Linked DNA regions of Homo sapiens: regions 1 and 2 are each linked to region 3. Evidence: promoter capture Hi-C in 16 types of primary human blood cells and fetal thymus (Javierre and others, 2016). All regions are on one chromosome and are shown on one strand. The core of a region is centred on a gene start or on the middle of the fragment in contact, and the rest is flanking DNA. Distances in the headings are between cores, read along the strand shown. Region 1 holds the start of DYNC1I2 (dynein cytoplasmic 1 intermediate chain 2). Region 2 holds the start of HAT1 (histone acetyltransferase 1). Region 3 holds the start of PPIG (peptidylprolyl isomerase G).

Evidence for each region. The method cuts DNA at HindIII sites, captures the fragments that hold promoters and counts their contacts. A CHiCAGO score of 5 or more calls a contact.
Region 1: a contact is called between a fragment that was not itself captured here and the fragment with the promoter of PPIG in region 3, in 1 of 17 cell types (non-activated CD4 T cells). The highest score is 9.0, in non-activated CD4 T cells.
Region 2: the fragment with the promoter of HAT1 here is called in contact with the fragment with the promoter of PPIG in region 3 in 1 of 17 cell types (total B cells); the score reaches 8.2 in total B cells.

Annotation. Positions count from the first base shown.
Region 1 is chr2:171,683,759-171,688,072 of GRCh38, forward strand. DYNC1I2 (dynein cytoplasmic 1 intermediate chain 2) reads left to right here and starts at 3,711. Exons shown (of 18, transcript NM_001378.3): 1 at 3,711-3,869. RefSeq lists an enhancer at 3,712-3,881. The HindIII fragment of the contact is 3,798 bases long and covers 1-3,558 here.
Region 2 is chr2:171,919,733-171,924,027 of GRCh38, forward strand. HAT1 (histone acetyltransferase 1) reads left to right here and starts at 2,729. Exons shown (of 11, transcript NM_003642.4): 1 at 2,729-2,775. The coding sequence starts at 2,769. LOC105373740 (a long non-coding RNA gene) reads right to left here and starts at 2,657. Exons shown (of 3, transcript XR_923579.2): 1 at 2,307-2,657; 2 at 1,348-1,499. RefSeq lists enhancers at 2,165-2,813, 2,954-3,003. The HindIII fragment of the contact is 14,743 bases long and covers 2,268-4,295 here.
Region 3 is chr2:169,582,962-169,587,416 of GRCh38, forward strand. PPIG (peptidylprolyl isomerase G) reads left to right here and starts at 1,390. Exons shown (of 14, transcript NM_004792.3): 1 at 1,390-1,529. RefSeq lists an enhancer at 1,306-1,355. The HindIII fragment of the contact is 789 bases long and covers 1,115-1,903 here.

The DNA of each region.
Region 1 (4,314 bases), core at 410-2,909, 2.1 Mb after region 3:
TTTTGATGTTTTATACATTTGTTTAAGTCCCATGGTTTAATAGCTACTTTTTTCTTAACTATTTTTTGAATATAACATACATACAATAAAAAGGACCCATGTTAAGAGTAGAGGTCAATGAATGTTTTACAGATATGTAAATGTGTGTAACCCCCACCAGATGAAGAAATGAAACATTCCCAGCACCGCAGAAACCTCCCCATATCCCTTGCCATCAATATCCCTATACCTCAATAGCCACTATTCTGACATTTCATTAGATTAGTTTTACCTTCTTTTGCATTCTATATAAATGAAATCCTGCATTATGTCAATATATTAATTGTATTAAAATTTTGCAAACATTGGCATATTGAATTCAAGTGTAAATCCAGATATGAGTTTGTTCAACAAATTCATCTGTATATATTATATTTCTACCCTCTCCTACAAACCATTATAAGAAGTTTTAAAATGCAAATTCTCCCCTTCGAAAACACCCTGCAGCACTAATGCTTATTAGGACTCCTCCCCAGCCCTTCCAACTTAAAAAGTAGGAAGACATAGTGGTTTGAACTATGTAATGTCCAGGGTACAGTCTTTCTAATCAGTGCTGCTAATGCATTTCTTCAAAAAAGTGTTAAAAATAAAACAACAAAAAAGTGGGGGGTTTTTTAGTTACGTATTTCATATCTTAAAACATTTTTTTAAATTTTATTTATTTATTTAAGCAATAGGATGTCACTCTGTCACCCAGGCTGGAGTGCAATGGTGTGATTATAGTTCACTGCAGCCTCAAATTCCTGGATTCAAGCAAACCTCCCGCCCTTAGCCTCCCAAGTCGCTGGGCCTACAGGTGAGTACCATCATATTTAGCTAATTTTAAAATTTTTTACAGAAATGGGGTTTTGCCATCTTGCCCAGGCTGGTCTCGAACTCCTGGGCTCAAGTGATCCTCCCACCTTGGCCTCCCAAAGTGCTGGGATTATAGGCATGAGCCACTGTACCCACTCAAAAGCTACATTATCCAGCCAGTATATTGAGTGGTTTTCAGTGGGAAGAGGTATCTAGTCTGCTTTATTGCTGTAGAAGTCTCACATAATGTTAACATTTCTCCAATCCATCTACTTTTCTTAATTCTCACTGATGATGCATCAGTTCATGCATTTATAATTGCTGGCTCTACCCAAATTCTTCCAGTTGCATTCCCTGCTTCCAGTCTCTACCTTACCTCTTTCTCCACCTCTCATCCCTCTAGGCAAGCTGTATCAACAAGGGTCTCAACAAGAAACAGAATTCACAAGATAGTTCACATGAAAATACTTTAATGAAAGGACAAGTTACAGAGGGGTGAGCGGGTATTAAGGGAACAAACGAGATGATGAGGCACTCAGAGACTAGCTACAGAGGAGGTGTTCAAGAGATAAAAGGAGAACATAAAATCACCAGACAGCCCGGGGAAAACTAGAGCCATGGTGAAAGAGCCATCTGGCAGGTACTGTAGTCATGAAGGAATGAAGCTATTGCTGGACATCTGACACTCAAAGAAGGAAGGAGCAAGGAAGAGATGCCCCAATTTCCCTTTCTACCCACCTTCTGATATCCTTGCCTTGGCCTTCTTTATGTCCAACCACAAAGCAGTCCTTAAAGAAACTGAGGTCAACCCTCAGAGGCATAGAGCTTAGCAAAGAAGGGCAGGAAATGAATCTGGGGGGCAAAGAAAATAACCAGCACATTAGTCTTTCTCCGGACTACTTTGAAAGGCCAGTCATCTAAAATGCAAACCTTCTCATACCTTGCACCCTCTTAAAATCTACCAGTGGATTCACATCATCTGTAGGACTAAATCTAAACTGGGATGTGCGACTTTGCCCCTGCTTATGGCTTCATTCCCCAGTTCCTGTCTTAGCCTACGGCCATTGTGAATTATTTCCAAATTCACCAGCATTCTATGCTCTCACACCTCTGTCCTTTGTCCATATTCTTTTCTCTTCCCAAGGCACCTTTCTGCATCTTCTCTGCTTGGCTAACTTCTTCTACTCAACCTTTGAGAATCAAAGACTTAGCTCTAGAATCACCTCCTTCCAAAAGTTTCCTGAAAAGTTTTTCCAGGTGTTTCTATGACTTCCTTATATAATTCCATCATTATACAGATGCTCCTTGAGTTATGTCCTGATAAACCCATTTTAAGTCAAAAATATATGTTGAAAATGCATTTTACTCTAATAAGCCCATTGTAATGAGAAAAAAATCATAAGTTAAACCATCAGTCAGGAACCATCCATTCTTAGTTGAGCGAGTGTCCTTTCTCCCTTGAGAAGAAGGATGTGCATTTTTGTGCATTTTTATGTTTTTTGTTTTTTTTGTTTCTTTTTCTTTTTTTTTTTTTTGAGGCAGGGTCTTGCTCTGTCTCCCAGGCTGGAATGCAATTGTGTAATCTCAGCTCACTATAACCTCCGCCTCCTGGGCGCAAGCCATCCTCCTGCCTCAGCCTCGTGACTAGCTAGGACTACAGGCGCATGCCACACACCCTGCTAATTTTTCTATTTTTTGTAGAGACGGGGTTTCACCATGTTGCCCAGGCTGGTCTCTAAGTCCTGAGCTCAGGTGATCTGCCTGCCTCGGCCTCCCAAAGTGCTGGGATTACAGGTGTGAGCCACTGCGCCTGGTCCATTTTAGCTGTTACCACAACACCCATCACCATTGCTGGCACATGGTAGGCAATCAATAATAATTTTTTTTCAAATTAATACATGAAAACTATTAGGAAAGAAGTAAAAAAATAACATAGCTATAAAGCTCTTTGAATGTTAGGTTATTGGGAAAAGCTGTGGAAAGCCAAGGATTTTCTTTCTCAAATTTATTTTTAGAATATTTTTTTCTACACAAAAGACCACAGATAAGGCAGAGAAAGATAAGAAAAAGACCACAAGCCCAAGGACTTGGAATTTGAATCATAAAGGTTCATTCTAGACTTGGGCAATATCTAGAACTTCTAGAACAATCAGTTTTCTAGAACATAGAAAAGATATTACCTTGGTGTTAGCTTTAACTCCTGCCAAATAATGCTTTAAATTATTTAAACTTTAAAAAGGTGTGTCAATGTATACATTGCAGGTAAATTCATGTTCCAGTAACTTTTGTTTTCTTTGTATGTTAAAAATCTAACTGTGGAAAACATTCTAGCTTGGTTTGAGAGTCCAATAATACAAAATGCTTTATTTCCTAAAATTGTTTGAGAGAAAACCAAAATGCTACCACACTGCAACAAAATACTAAAGAATTATTTGCTATGTCAGTTGACATATTTTTATTTAGATTTTGCCTAAGATGCCACATGAAGCCTATATAAGACATTCTTTCCCTAAAACTTACATATGTATGTACATATATATATATAATGTTTTACATCCTAAACAGTCTACTTCACGTCTTCACCAAATGTGCAGCAGCGTGATTCACAGGTTCACCACTGGAAAATAGACCTTAAAATTCCGCCAATATTGGGTCAAAGATCTTACACTATAACACATACTACACTGTGGGCACGGATCAACAGACGAGAATACTTTATACAGAAGCTTCTCGACGGAAGAAGGCCTTGGAGTGGGAAATCTAAAGGAGGGGACACACTACATGTCCCAGCACACCTTGCGACGCCCAGCGACCACAATTCCCAGAACGCACTGCTCGTCGCACGCAGGTTTTCCTTGTTGCCGGGGTTTGTAGTTCTTCTCGATCGTGTCAGTTTGTAAGGCGAGGGCGGAAGTTGGATTCCTGGCCTGAGAATATTAGGCGTAGTTTTCCAGTTTTTGGCAAAGCGGAAATACTTAAGGCCCCTGGGTTGACTGGGTTCTTTGTTTTATCTACCGGCTTCTGCTTTACGACAGGTAAGTCACGGAGGGGCTACAATTCCTCGCAGCAGGGCCCCACCTTTTATTTCTGGGAGCGACCTCGTTCTGGTGAGGCTATTTGTCCCTAAGCTCTCGCCGTAGCAGCCGCCGCCCATCCCTCTTTGTGTGCTTTGGAAAGCCGCGGAGCTGGTGGTGGCTACAGTTGGTGTTGGGGGCTTAGGCGAGGGACGTTACCGGGAAGTTGCAGGCGGGAGGACTCTTCCCCATCCAGTCACCTGACAGGTGGGTTGACTGTTCTTCCCTCAAGGCCTCCCTGCCTGTGTTCCACGTCGCAACTCGAAGGGCGGCTTGGCAGTTCCTGCTGACATCCCCGCCCGGCCCAGCTTTGGGGAGGAAAGGCGGGGAGACCTGGGTGCGGTGACTCATTGCGGCCCGGCGAGAGGAGTCCACTCCTTTCCCTTCTCGACCCTCCAGAGGCGGC
Region 2 (4,295 bases), core at 1,479-3,978, 2.3 Mb after region 3:
TGAACATCTAAGACGAGGACAATATAAAACCTCAATTCTGCAAGCAAATCACATTAAATGCTAGTCATACAATATATCAGTAAGTTTCATCATATTTTTTTCCTACAACTAACCATAATATCACAGGACTAATAATCTGTGATATACCACAGTTAAAACGTAATTCTTCTTGATTTCTTACTTATAAAGATCATAATTGCTGGTCAGCAATTGATCCATAGATAAGGTGATTTTGGAAAGAAATGATAAGTCTTGCCATTTTGAAAAGAAAAGTTTTTTTTTTTTTTTGAGATGGAGTCTCGCTCTCTTGAGCAGGCTGGAGTGCAGTGGCACTATCTCAGCTCACTGCAACCTCCGCCTCCTGGGTTCAAGCGATTCTACTGCCTCAGCCTCCCAAGTAGTTGAGATTACAGGCTCATGTCACCACGCCTGGTTAATTTATTGTACTTTTTAGTAGAGACAGGGTTTTACCATGTTGGCCAGGCTGGTCTCAAACTCCTGACCTCAGGTGATCTGCCTGCCTTGGCCTCCCAAGTGCTGGGATTACAGGTGTGAGCCACCGTGCCTAGCCAAAAATGATTATTAAAGAAAAAGATTGTTTTCCTTTTTTGATCCATAATGTCATTAGTCTCATTGATTTCAGTTTTCTGTCTTAACATTATGACTGTAATTTCTTTTTTTTTTTTTGAGACGGGGTCTCGCTCTTGCCCAGGCTGGAGTGCAGTGGCGGGATCTCGGCTCACTGCAAGCTCCGCCTTCCAGGTTCACGCCATTCTCCTGCCTCAGCCTCCTGAGTAGCTGGGACTGCAGGCACCCGCTACCACGCCCGGCTACTTTTTTTGTATTTTTAGTAGAGACAGGGTTTCACCATGTTAGTCAGGATGGTCTGGATCTCCTGATCTCGTGATCCGCCCGCCTCGGCATCACAAAGTGCTGGGATTACAGGCGTGAGCCACCACGCCCGGCCTATGACTGTAATTTCTTGTGTATCATTAGGTTTCAAGAAAAAGGATCTTGAAACCTTTTCTTGGGATCACGACTGTAATCCCAGCACTTTTGGAGGCCGAGATGGGCAGATCATCTGAGGTTGGGAGTTCGAGATCAGCCTAACCAACATGGAGAAACCCCGTCTCTACAAAAATACAAAATTGCTGGGTGTGGTGGCGCATGCCTGTAATCCCAGCGACTCAGGAGGCTGAGGCAGAAGAATCGCTTGAACCCGGGAGGCGGAGGCTGTGGTGAGCTGAGATTGTGCCATTGCACTCCAGCCTGGGCAACAAGAGTGAAACTCCGTCTAAAAAAAAAAAAAAAAAAAAGAAAGAAAAAGGATCTGGGCATTCTCAGTACCTTTTCTGATCTTTATCTTCAGGAAAGCCATCTCTATATAGTTGAGCAAATAAATACTGGGCTGAGTATCTGATGAACTGCACTCTGCATAGGTTGCATACTGAGAATGAACTTGGGCAGTTTATCTTTTCTGGGCTTTGGTTTCCTCATCTCTAAAATGAGAGGGCGTGTTAGTTCTAGACCATCATCCCAAGGGTCCATTTTAGCTTTAGCGTGCATCACTGTAAAACCTGTTAACAAATATTTGTTGAGATAAGGAATTCTGGTGTATAGCCAACATTGTGGGAATATTTGTGGATACCTAAATAGTGGTTTATCCTCTGGGGAAAGCAGTTCCTACAGCTACTAAATACTAACAAGGCCTATGGCTAAAATCAGGTAGCACCTTGTGATGTAATTCAAACCACTAGGACATGTGGCATGCAAGACTACATCAGGCTACTTGAGGTATTTATTAGGTAACAATTTTTTTTTTTTTTTGAGACGGAGTCTCACTCTGTTGCCCAGGCTGGAGTGTAGTGGCGCAATCTCGGCTCACTGCAACTTTCGCCTCCAGGGTTCAAGCGATTCTCCTGCCTCAGCCTCCCGAGTAGCTGGGATTACAGGCGCCTGCCACCATGCCTGGCTAATTTTTGTATTTTTAGTAGAGACGGGGTTTCACTATGTTGGCTACACTGGTCTCGAACTCCTGAGCTCAGGCAATCTACCCGCCTCGGCCTCCCAAAGTGCTGGGATTATAGGCGTGAGCCACCGCGCCCGGCCTAGGTAACGATTTTTGCGCGCTAAACGGTTCTTAGTAACCTGCAGAGTGAAAGCAGAGTACCTAAATATCATACTGTATACGTTAAAAACAGGGGAGAAAGGAAAAAAGGTGTTAAAGTTTACAGCAAAATGAGAAACAAATGAGGAAAACAAGTGAAAGCTTCTCCCGCAACTGAAACTCAACCTCTACATTTTACCTAGGTAAAATGGTAAAATTGCCCACAGGGCTCAGGTGTTTGGATGCACTGTCCAGGCCAAGAGGAAAGATTTTCAGCCAGTCTCCAAAACATCTCAGGGACGGGTATGGAAAACAGGCGTAAAGTGTCTGTATTGATCAAATCAACCCCAGAGAAACTTTCCTAGGGCCAGAGAGCATCTCAACCGCGAAAGTCCGTTTGCGGCCTCCTTCTCCACTTCAGGCCTGCAAAGCGGCTGACGGCATTCGCAGTGGCTAGGCAACGGCCCGCGCAGACTTCTCGGCGTTAGCCCCGCCTCTTGAGGCGCTTCCGCCGCCGGGCTCCTGGACACGCCTCCTTTAATTGGCTAACGTCACGCTGGGAGTGGGCGGGGAAAATATGTCAGACTGTGCGGTCACTTCCGGCCCGGGAGCGCGCGGGTTGATTCGTCCTTCCTCAGCCGCGGGTGATCGTAGCTCGGAAATGGCGGGTAAGTTACCGGGAAAAGTTTACCAAGGGGAGGAGGCGGCCAGATCGGGGATAGAACGCCGAGACGGTGGTGACAATGCCCGCCTAGAACTTTCGGGCTGTAGCCTGGGTTCCAGAAGGCCTGCTTGGGACCGGAAGCGCGGAACTCTCAGCCCAGCAGCTCCTTGTTGGCGGCGGTCCGCGCCCCCGCCCCCAACTGCTTGGGGTTCTGCGCCTTCTGCCAGCAATCCGGCCCCTACCGAGGGCCGAAGACGCCAGGGAAAAGCGTCATGATTTGGGCTCGTAAAATGCCACATGCCTTGGGGCCTGTTTCTCTTCCCATTCCTTTTGTCCACTGCTGCTTGCTTCAGCTCTTGTACATCTGGTCCTGTTCCCGCCAGCTGATTTTAATGCTCAGATCCTCCTCCTCTTCCAGGTCTCCGTCTACCTTCCACTACAGTCAACTTCTGAGCTAGCGCATTGCTGCCTTGCCCTGCTCTGGCGCTCCCACTTGGATCTCGACTGACTTCGTAGTCGTCTCGTTAATCTGTCACACTTTAGTATTCCGAGGATCGTATTTAGATGCCCTTTGAGAAAGACTTTGTTCCTGAACTGCTCCCTTCTCTTTTAGGGTTGGACTACTATAATACAATTCTCTTGTGTACATTCTAGAGACCCTTCAAGTTACAACATTTAATAATGTATAATTGCTATTACTTTGTACGTGTATTAAGGCTGTTTTGGTGTGATTATTTTTTTCGATTACTTATCTTTTGAAGTTATGGACAGTTTCTTTTTCCTGAGACAGGGTCTCTCTGTCGCCCAGGCTGGAGTGCAGCGATCATAGTTCCGGGCAGCTTCCAACTCCTCGTAGGCTCAAGCGATCCTCTTGCCTCAGCCTCCCGAGTAGCTAGGACTACAGGCATGCGCCACAACATTCGGCTAAAAAAAAACAATTTTTTTTAACCTTTTAGAGACAGAGTCTGGCTGTATTGCCTCAGGCCGGTCTGGAACTCTTGGCCTCAAGCCATCCTCTCGCCTCAGCTTCCCAAAGTGTTGGAATGACAGGATTGAGCCACTTCGCTGGCCTTTGTTGCTTTTATCATCTCTTTACAGGGCATTCCTCATAGTCTCTCTACATTAACCATTCCATTTTTATGAATATGTGGGATAGACAAGCTGTTGTGTGAGCTCTACAGATGTTTAAAGAAGGACTTTTCTACCAGATGGAGATTGTAGGATCTTGAAGTACCACAGAAGAGGGAGGACGTACTCTAAGAATTACATCTAAATTCGAATTTTGGGCCCATCATTTAGTAGTTGGATGCCCTTCAACTAAACCTCTTTCTAAGCCTGAACTTTTGAATGTAAAATGGGGTTGATGTAATACCTACTTATAGAATTGTGCAGATTGAGCTAATATATGATTTCACAGGTTAAATTTTGTTGCTTACATTCCTCGAAGTAAATTCTGTAATCTCGGTTCTGTAGATTAGGGTCAGAGGGGTTAAGTAATGTGCTCTAGTTCCCTGAGCTTACTAG
Region 3 (4,455 bases), core at 140-2,639:
CCTCTAGGTCTTTGAGGAATCGCCACGCTGTCTTCCACAATAGTTGAATTCATTTAAACTCCCACCAGCACTGTAAAATGTTCCTTTTTCTCCACAACCTCACCAGCACCTGTTATTTTTTGACTTTTTAATAATAGCCATTCTGACTGGTATGAGATAGTATCTCACTGCGGTTTTGATTTGCATTTTTCTGATGATTGGTGGTGTTGAGCTTTTTCATTATGATTGTTGGCTGCAAGTATGTCTTCTTTCGAAAAGCGTTGGCCGGGCGTGGTGGCTCACACCTGTAATCCCGGCACTTTGGGAGGCCAAGGAGGACGGATCACCTGAGGTTGGGAGTTTGAGACCAGCCTGACCTACATGGAGAAACCCTGTCTCTACTAAAAATACAAAAAATTAGCCAGGCCAGTCTGTGGCCCAGGGGTTGGGGACCCCTGTTTTAAGGTATTGCAGAATTGTCCCCTCCACACACAGCGAAGTGTAAATCCGTTTAATCTCTGAACTATCTAAAGATGAATATGCTGCTGCTCTCCTGCAATAAAGGGCAATGACTTAAAAGAGGTGGGGGTGGAGAGGCAGAAATGTCCTCTGTTTTACTGCTGTGTAAAACTGGTCACGCCCCTTAGAAGCACCACCACATGCCTAACTGTTGTTGATAATTAATTTACCTGATGCAAGTGAGTGAAAAATTTAAATGATCATAATTTACGTTGCCTTTAAACGACAGAACAATTTAAGTCCTCTAGTTAGCTAGTTCCTTTAAAACACACCCCACATCCCTACCAGAATCACTGCCCATCCCCCCCCACCCCCCCGCCCAAACAGCAATGGTTATTTATTTCTAACATAATCCGGGGACCCTTGCCCCTTAAAATAATTAAATAATATATGCCATATTTTCTCTAGAAGGCACTAGATTTGGCATCAAAAGACTTGCTTTGGCATTCAAGAACAGTGTGTTTGAGGAGGAGGCGTTTATCTTCCCTGAGCCTCAATTTCTTTATCTGTAAAACAACAAAGAACATCAAAGCTCTTTGTAATTTCTTCCTCTTTCCTCAAATAACACTTTGCTCATTACTGCGTTTTTAGAACTTATATCCTAGCGTTAAGTGGAAGCTTAACTGGAAGCTCCATGAAGGTAGGCCTTCCTTTCTGATAACCTAGCGTAAGATCAATAAATGTTTATTAAATGAGGCACTTTACTTCACAAAGGATATGGCATTTTAACGGTTACAAGCGTTCCCAGTCAACGCATCCACAAAGCATTAGGCCACCTATAAACTAGGAATTTAAAAGGCACCAAAATCCTAGAAGTCCTAGGAGGGCGTGGTGACGCAAGCAGGTGAACGCTGGCCGATGCTGACAACCCACTCCTGACGCGCTTCCGGTGCGACGCTGTCTCTCCATGCCAGGACTGAGTTGTGGGGGAGGGAGGCGGTTAGCGGGCTTTAGCGCCTTTTCTGGCGGCGGTAGATTTGAAGCGCTTCAAAGGACCGGACCCAGAGAAGAGGAAAACTCTACCGGTGCAGGTAAGTGGTATGAGGCTCAAGTTGTTCTGGCGGCGTCATTTCAGCAGTCCCTGCGTACGAAAGCGGGAAGGGCCTGGGAAGAGGGGCGGAGCCGGCGCGGCTGACCGGGTTGGGTTTACCGTCTTTCCCTCGAGGTATCGGGGCTGCTTGGGCCCAGAGGAAGTCCCTGAGGACCGCAGCAGTGCCTTTGCCGCTGTTGCAGAAGGAGAAGGCTTGCAGTCGAGCCCCGGGGCCTGGGGACGGTCCTTCCTCTGCCAGCCCCCGCCCTCCCCACTCAGGCGCACACCTCCCTCACTGACGCATTTTGCCGCACAAGCTGTAACATGGCGGCAGCGACTGCGGCCTGAACTCTAGGGAGCCGGGTTGATTTTTAAAGCTTCAAAATCCTAAGACTCAGCACTGTTGCGGGGTAGGTGGCGGGACTGGTGGGGAAGGGGGAGACAGCCTGACGTCCTGTCAGGCTAGGGTTGGAGAGTGACGGGCGAAGAGCCTGAATCACAGGGATTAAAATTGAAGACTAGCTTTCCTCCTCTTTCGACCTTTTCCTCTCACAGCACAGTGGCTGTCGTGCAGTTAAGTGGCAGAGGCCACTTTGTTAAGCATTTTTCTAAAACTCAAGTCCAGGGTCTTGAGCTCTCGCGAAGTTCCCCCGTGTTTCGGAGGAGCTGTGAGCTGCGCAGGCCTTTTAGGAGGAGATAATTACTCTTTAGGAGGAAGATGATGATTTCGGGGCTCAGTATGCCTGAAGGGGAAGTATGCTAATTTGGTTCTTGGTTAGTCTTTTTTTTTGAGACGGAGTCTCGCTCTGTCGCCTAGGCTGGAATGCAGTGGCGCGATCTTGGCTCACTGCAACCTCCGCCTCCTGGGTTCAAGTGATTCTTCTGCCTCAGCCTCCCAAGTAGCTGGGACTACAGGCACGTGCCACCATGCCCGGCTAATTTTTTGTGTTTTTAGTAGAGACGGGTTTTCACCGTGTTAGCCAGGATGGTCGATCTCCTGACCTCGTGATCCGCCCACCTCGGCCTCCCAAAGTGCTGGGATTACAGGCGAGAGCCACCGCGCACGGCCAGCTCATGTTTAGTCTTAAGGAGCAAAGTCTAGATGTGCTGGCAAGGAGTATGCACAATCGTTTTGGAAATGCTATAAAAGCACCATTTTGTGCATTGATTTTAATTTCTTTCCACGATAGCCCTTTCTGTGTGTAACCAACATTTTGCAGTAGTGAACACAAATACAAAAGTATTTGCTTTTATAGTTTGGTACTAACATAGTTGTCCAAAGAACAATTAGATGTTTTAGAAATTAGGGGGGCCTGATATTAACTTTCAGTAGTTAAAACCAGGAAAAAAGAGTGAGTGTGTGTGTGTGTCGGTCACACACACGTTTTTGTCTTTGTGTATTCCCATTTGGTAACAGGATGGCCGGTAATTGCTACTTTGTAACAATGACGGGTGGGGGGGTGAACATTTTATAAATTTTGAAATCGTGCTATAAAATCCAGAAAAGATACATTTAGAATGGCTGCTTCTCTCCTGTTTTTAATATATCCTGAAAATTTACCCGTTTTAGCACTCCCCTTTTTTTTATGTTAACGAGTTGGGACAGAATTATTTCTGTAACAAATTACATGGTTCTGTGTCTTAAACAAGAGTTCATTGTACATTGTTTGACTATTTCTTTATGATTCAGAATTATTGATGCTCTGAGATCCTATAGGGTCTTGTAGTAGGATTCTGCGCATTTGAATTGTTGGTTTCCTTTTTAAGGCTTTTCTAGGCAGTCAGTTGTCAGGAGTGCTCCTGCTGTCAGGAGTGTATAAGTATGTAAACTTCTTAGGTTAGAAAAATTTGGACTTTCTGGCCCAATTATCTTTCTGAGCTTCAGTTTCTTCACCTACCTGCAAAATGACATTTTGATCTCCACCTTCCATCAACTGTGGGCTTGAAAATTAAATACTCAGCTTTGTTAAAATTGTGTGTGAAGTTGGCTTTCATTAACTCAGTGGTTCCTTTATGGGTGAAGAGTGTTCATTACATTTATTTTTAACCATATAGTCGATTTACTGTGGTGCTTATTATTGTGGTCTTGCAGTATTGGTGACTTCTACATATTTTTGATATTTTGCCTTAAATTAGATTTTCTGTGAGGCAGCATCCTCTTCTTTATACAAAGGGAAAGTGGAAGCCATTCATAATAAAGTACTTCTGTTAGGACACTATCTGGGGTTAATTCTTTAAATAGTAGTTGCCCCTTTAGTTAGGCTTTTTTCCTTCCTATTAGTTTATAAATAGAGTATTTAAACATAATTATAACATGTTGTCTATTTTTAGAATCCCAGTGTACTAAGATGTCATGAAGGAATACATAGATAATTAATGCAAGTGACCTGAAGAGTTTGTTGCAAGTCTTTCTGTTGCATTGTGGCATTGCATGCTTTTTGCTTTTATTTATTTATTTTTTTCAGACAGAGTCTTGCTCTGTCGCCCAGGCTGGAGTGCAGTGGCATGATCTCAGCTCACTGCAACCTCCACCTCCTGAGCTCAAGGGATTCTCACGCCTCAGCCTCCCTAGTAGCTGGGAGTACAGGTGCCTGCCACCACACCGGGTAATTTTTATATTTTTAGTAGAGAAGGGGTTTCACCATGTTGGCTACGCTGGTCTCAAATTCCTGACCTCAAGTAATCCATCCGCCTCCGCCTCCCAAAGTGCTGGGATTACAGGCGTGAGCCACTGTGCACTGTGCCCAGCCTGACTTTTGCTTTTTTTTTTGAGACAGAGTCTCGCTGTCTTGCCCATACTGGAGTGCAGTGGCGTGATCTCGGCTCACTGCAACCTCCGCCTCCCGGGTTCAAGCAATTCTTCTGCCTCAGCTTCCTGAGTAGCTGGGATTACAGGCATGTGCCACCACACCCAGCTGATTTTTGTA